Regions from separate parts of the Homo sapiens genome. Here region 1 is linked to region 2. Evidence: promoter capture Hi-C in 16 types of primary human blood cells and fetal thymus (Javierre and others, 2016). All regions are on one chromosome and are shown on one strand. Each heading gives the region's core, a stretch centred on a gene start or on the middle of the fragment in contact. The rest is flanking DNA. Distances are from core to core; before and after follow the strand shown.

Region 1 (2,921 bases), core at 239-2,738, 430 kb after region 2:
ACGAACCCCAAGAGTCGTGCTGGCAAGTGGGGCTGTGGCTGAAACACACTTCATCATGTCTACACCTCAGACCTCCCCTGGCCACGCCCTGAACTTGGCCACACCAGCCCACATTCCCAGCGACCCTGTGCACTCAGCCCTGGCCTGCCACCCCCTGGGCCTTGTACCCCTGGCCATACCTTCAGCCCTCCATCCTCCATCTTCACACCCACAGCCACAGCCCTCGGCCACCAGCCCCCACATATATACTAACAAGCCTGCGCCAACCCCAGTAATACCCACAGTCCAGCACTAAAGTGCCCCCCACACCCACAGCCCTCCGCTGCAGACCCCTGGCCACACCCTGAGCCTACACAGCAGCCTTCTCCATCCCCACACCCGCAGCCCTGGGGCTGAGGCCCCTGGCCACAAACCTGCATCCCTTCCTGAGACCCCTGACCATAGCCTCAGCCACTCACCCCCTCCAATACCCGCAGCCCTTTATCAAGGCGCCCTGACCCTCAGCACCCCTTTGTCCACACACCCTCAGCCCTCTGGCCACACCCTCAGCCTGCACTGAAGGCCCCAGTCCACATCCACACACTAACATTATAAGACTCCCAGGTACTATGCGGAGATCCCCTGCGTAGAGACCTCCCCACCACATCCCCCTCCTCCACTGCCACCTCCTGACCACACCCTCGGTCTCAGCAACCATCTTCTAGCTCTGCCTTTTACACTAGGGCTTCCAGTGACCACGGCCTGGGCTCTGCCCGGCTGCCCCATCTTCCACCAAAAACTCCTCGCCAGTGACCACACTCCCATCCCTAAGTGGCAGTTTCTGGGACTGTGAGCACCGGTGGTTCCTACGTTACAGGGACCATAACCCCAGTCCACGCTGCACTCCCCTTCCCTTTCCCTGGGTGCAACCTCCCACCAGGGACCCCAAGACCCGCACTTGGTTCACCAAGGGTAACGTCCAGGGGAGCTTGGATGCCACAGGGTGCTTGGCCCAAGCACTGGGCGGATCCTGCGTGCAGTGCTCACTCCTGTCCGTGGAAAGATGGATTCTTGGTCATCTCAGCGCGGTCAGGTGGCGCTGGGTTGCAGGCCGCAGCCCCATGGGTCTGCAGGCCATGGATGGAGTGGCCACACCCGTGAACTGGAGCCACCCGTCCCGCTCCCACTGGGACAGCTGGAGTCATCAATCAGCCGGACCAGGAGGTGGGGGCTGCGAGGTGGAATGCTTGGGGCCAGGGCAGGGCCGCTCAGCTGGCTCCTCGGCTGGGACCGCCGGAGGTTGGGACCCTTTCCAGGCTGCTCCCCCCAACCCTCATCGTGCAGGATACTGATTGGGGTGGCGGGCATCTGGGTCTCCTATGGGCTTCTACCTCGCGGCTGCTCCTGAAGTGTGCGTTCGGAAGGACAGAACGACGCAGGAATGGACCGATGGACGCGGGAGACCAGGCGGCTCCGCAGCTCCGCTCCCTGCCGGCTCCCGGGTGGGACTGCAGCCCAGGCGGCTCCGCCGTATTATCCCCTGTTTCTCGGTCTCCATAGAGACGGCGAGTCCCACCCCCGAGGCTGTCTCGGCGGGAGAGTGACCAAGGTCACGCCGGCCCCGCCCACGAGGCCCCGCCCTCCCCGAGACTCTCCGGGAGCCGCATCCCGCCCCTCCCCCGCAACTCCGCGGTCCTCGCGACGGCGAGACCAGCGCTCTGCAGTTCGGGGCGTCTTCGGACGGCCCCCTGAGGAAACAGCCTCCCATCCTGGGATGTGCCTAAAGCTCTAAGCGGCCCCAATCTCCAGAAGAGATCCAGCTCCCCAGAGAGTCAACCAGAGGCCACTGGGGAGCTGCGCGGGGCATTGGTGGGGCTTGGGGAATCGGGAAGGAGCTCTCCCTCAGTGACAGGGGTATACGGTTGACTCAAGAGCACTGCCATCCACTGAACGGATGGCACCCCCAGGCCACAACTCCCGTGCTCTCTTGGGTAGGATTCAGAGCCTGGAGCAGTGGGGAAGAAGGGAGGGGACTCCCTACGAGCGAATCGCGCTCGCCCAGCCCCAGGATGCTGGCATTCGACGGCAGCCCTGCTGCCGGGGAAAAGCTGCGGGACCTCCTGGCTCGGCCCCCTCCTTTCGCCGCCACCTCCCCACGGCCTCGCAGCCTCAGCGCCCACTGCTGCTTTCGGAGCCCAAAGCCTGCTTTCTCTCGGCCTCCCAGTGCAAAGCCCATCTTTAAGAAAAATAACCTCCTCCAGGCCGCCTTCTAAGGCCTTTCCTAACCACGAGCCGCACGTGAGCACCTCCACAGGGCAGCCTGGGTGGCTACCTACTATACAGGGACCTCCTCCCCGCCCCCGGTCCACTGGCCAGGGTCGGGCTTCTGGATGGCCCGTGGCCCCTGCCATTAAGAAAGTAAGCGCGACGTCCGCAAAAGCATAAAAAAGTTTATTGGAGCATCACAGCCGGTGGGGCGGGTATTGCTGAGTCGTGGGGGAGGGAGGCCGATCCCGCCGGCCGTAGGGGCCCCTAAAGTGCACTCGGTGCGGCAAGGATGGGGTGTTGCATAGAGAGTCAGGCCGGCCGCTCTAACTCGGCCCTCCGGCCTCTCGGCCCAGCTAAGCCAGACCAGCCTCCCGGCCGCCCGGCGCCCTGGGCTCGCCGCTGCTCGGGCTCACGAAAACGGCGGGCGCACGCGCCTGCCGCGCCAGCGTGGGCTGTCGGCCCCGGCCCCGCGGGGCGGCCAGAGCGGCGCTGCCCAGGCGCGTCTGCGCCACTGGAATCTCGTCCACGGACTCTGCCGACGCCGAGTGGTAGGCGCCGGCAGGGCCAGCGGCGTGCACAGGGCTGGCGTCCGCGGAATCCGTCGACGAGCTGGAGCGGCGGCTGGGGGCCCTAGGCCCTGCGCAAGGGAAGGGAACATGAGCCCAGTGGCTGCG
Region 2 (2,726 bases), core at 44-2,543:
ATCCAGCTCCACTATGCCTACCTGTCCCCTCCCCGTCCCTGTTTCCAAAGCACCCTAGCGGTCCTGAGACTGCCTGGGCTGGCAGGTGGGCAGCTAAGGTCTCAGGAGCTTGGGGGTCAGTGCCCCATGGCCACCTCTGCAGGTCATGGTATGGGTCCATGGAGGCGCTCTGATAACTGGCGCTGCCACCTCCTACGATGGATCAGCTCTGGCTGCCTATGGGGATGTGGTCGTGGTTACAGTCCAGTACCGCCTTGGGGTCCTTGGCTTCTTCAGGTGAGACGACAGGCATGGCCAGAGCACTGCCTGCACCGGGGAGAGGCCAGCTCACCAGAGCAACTGGGGATCTAGGTTGGGGTCCGGAACCTGAAGGGAGGGCCCCTTACCCATGATGTCTGAGGCAGAGAAGGGCACCCCCCAAGCCTCCACCCTGGGAGAGGGGTCCAGCCAAAGCCAGAATTATACAGTGAACTTGGTCCCTTGGGCAGAGGGCATTGATTCCTGGGCTGAAGCCCAGGTTCCAGCAGGATATGGGACAAAGAGCAACAGGCTGTGGAGATGCCAACCACGGCTCCCAGACAGGCCAGACCTGGGGAGCAGAGAAGGGTCTGGCATCCTGGTGGCTAATTCAAAGCAAACCTGCAGAGGCTGGCGAGGAGCCAGGCTGAACTAACCGTTGCCCCAACACTGCCCCCAGCACTGGAGATGAGCATGCACCTGGCAACCAGGGCTTCCTAGATGTGGTAGCTGCTTTGCGCTGGGTGCAAGAAAACATCGCCCCCTTCGGGGGTGACCTCAACTGTGTCACTGTCTTTGGTGGATCTGCCGGTGGGAGCATCATCTCTGGCCTGGTAAGTCACTATAGGGGGCTAGTGATGGTGGCCAGGAGGGCTCCGGTGGTCTCAGAACTCCCAGCTCCTCTGCCCTCCTCTGACAGCCACCTCCTCTCTCCAATGCACCCAGGTCCTGTCCCCAGTGGCTGCAGGGCTGTTCCACAGAGCCATCACACAGAGTGGGGTCATCACCACCCCAGGGATCATCGACTCTCACCCTTGGCCCCTAGCTCAGGTCTGTATTTCCTTCCCTCTCTTACTCTATGTGTGCCTCCCATACCCCACTCTGTGCTGGCCCTGGGGTCTCAGAGTAGCGGGGTTTGCTGGCAGGGAGCTCCCTGTTAGCAAAGAGAAGCCCAATAAGACGAAGGAGCATCAGAGGAAACAACTGCTGCATTCCAGCATATTGGCACTCAGGGAGGGCTTCCTGAAGGAAGCCACCCTGAAGCATATCATTGTTGGCCCTTTCTCCAGGGTGGGGTCTTCAGGAGCACCCCTCTCTGCCCCAGGCAGCATGGTGGAGGGGGTCTCCATTGCCAGCCACCTGCTGCCTGCGAGCTCTCCATTCAGGCTCCAGATCCCCACCCTAGATCCTCATTGTAAGGCCTTGTGAAGAAAATCCAGGGGAAGCCACAGTGGGAACTGCATCTGCAAAGGCTGCAGGTGTGGGAGAGAGTGACAGGTCCTGCAGGAGCAAGCTCGCAGGTTAGGGAACAGGGCAGGAAGTGAAGGTGCTGGAGAAGTGGGGGCCATGCCTGGGAATCTGGACTTTCTCCAGAGGGCAGGAAGAAGTTGGGCAATGACAAGGTTGAGCTACCTGGAGTAGAAGGTGGGTTGGAGGGAGCCGTCCTGAAGATCAAGACACCAGTGAAATGACCAGGGCAGAGTCCAGGAGAAAGAGACAGGATGGAATAGGGATAGAGCCATCGGGGAGAGAGGGGGCAAATGTGAGCAGGATTTGGAAGACTGGGTCAATTCCCTCACCTGGCCCCAGATGGTGGCCAAGGCAGTGTGGGCTGGGCATTTTAACCACTGTGTACAAGATGATTCTGGAACCTCTGCGTGGGCATGTTGACTCTTGTATGGACAACAGCATCCTCCTCTCAACCTCCCCATCCCATCCTCTCCCCATGGCCAGGAGAGATTTTCTCAACCACAGACTTGAGGTCATTCCCTGTCTCTCCTGTGTCCAAAGAAAAACACAGCTCAAGGCTGAGGTTGGCGGATCACAAAGTCAGGAGATCAAGGTGATCCTGGCTAACATGGTGAAACCCCATCTCTACTAAAAATACAAAAAATTAGCCGGGCATGGTGGCAGGTGCCTGTAGTCCCAGCTACTCAGGAGGCTGAGGCAGAAGAATGGTGTGAACCCGGGACGCAGAGCTTGCGGTGAGCCAAGATCATGCCACTGCACTCCAGCCTGGGCGACAGAGCGAGAGTCTGTCTCAAAAAAATAATAATAAAAGATAATGACACTATTCTTAGAGGGCAATGAGGACTCAGTGCCCCCATTCCCCCAGATAATAAAATTATGGTATAATAGGGGACGCAAGGGGGCCCTTGGGACCACCCAAGCTGACGGGCAGGGCAGGCTTCTCAGGAGTGGTGACAAGTCTGTGACCAGTCTCGAGGCCGATCTGTGACATCACATCCAGCTGTCCTACAGATGCACCCTCTCTGTGGGAGGCAGAAGGCTGCAAGGTGGGGCTGAGTGGCTGAGAGGGAGGCATGACTCTTTCATTTGTCCCCAGAAAATCGCAAACACCTTGGCCTGCAGCTCCAGCTCCCCGGCTGAGATGGTGCAGTGCCTTCAGCAGAAAGAAGGAGAAGAGCTGGTCCTTAGCAAGAAGCTGGTATGGCCACCCTTTTGGGGATGGTGCCGGGCAATGGCAC

Evidence for each region. Contacts are between HindIII fragments. The CHiCAGO score rates a contact against its expected background, and 5 or more counts as called.
Region 1: the fragment with the promoter of TPPP3 here is called in contact with a fragment that was not itself captured in region 2 in 3 of 17 cell types (naive B cells, total CD8 T cells and M1 macrophages); the score reaches 5.8 in naive B cells.

The regions. Positions count from the first base shown.
Region 1 is chr16:67,392,010-67,394,930 of GRCh38, forward strand. It overlaps TPPP3 (tubulin polymerization promoting protein family member 3), which reads right to left and starts at 1,489. Exons shown (of 4, transcript NM_015964.4): 1 at 1,371-1,489. ZDHHC1 (zDHHC palmitoyltransferase 1) reads right to left here. Exons shown (of 12, transcript NM_001323627.2): 12 at 2,143-2,884. The coding sequence ends at 2,601. The HindIII fragment of the contact is 5,780 bases long and covers 1-2,921 here.
Region 2 is chr16:66,963,660-66,966,385 of GRCh38, forward strand. CES3 (carboxylesterase 3) reads left to right here. Exons shown (of 13, transcript NM_024922.6): 4 at 143-276; 5 at 698-851; 6 at 964-1,068; 7 at 2,585-2,686. Among named protein-coding and RNA genes, the nearest start is that of CES3, 3.8 kb to the left of the region's middle. RefSeq lists an enhancer at 79-996. The HindIII fragment of the contact is 7,346 bases long and covers 1-2,726 here.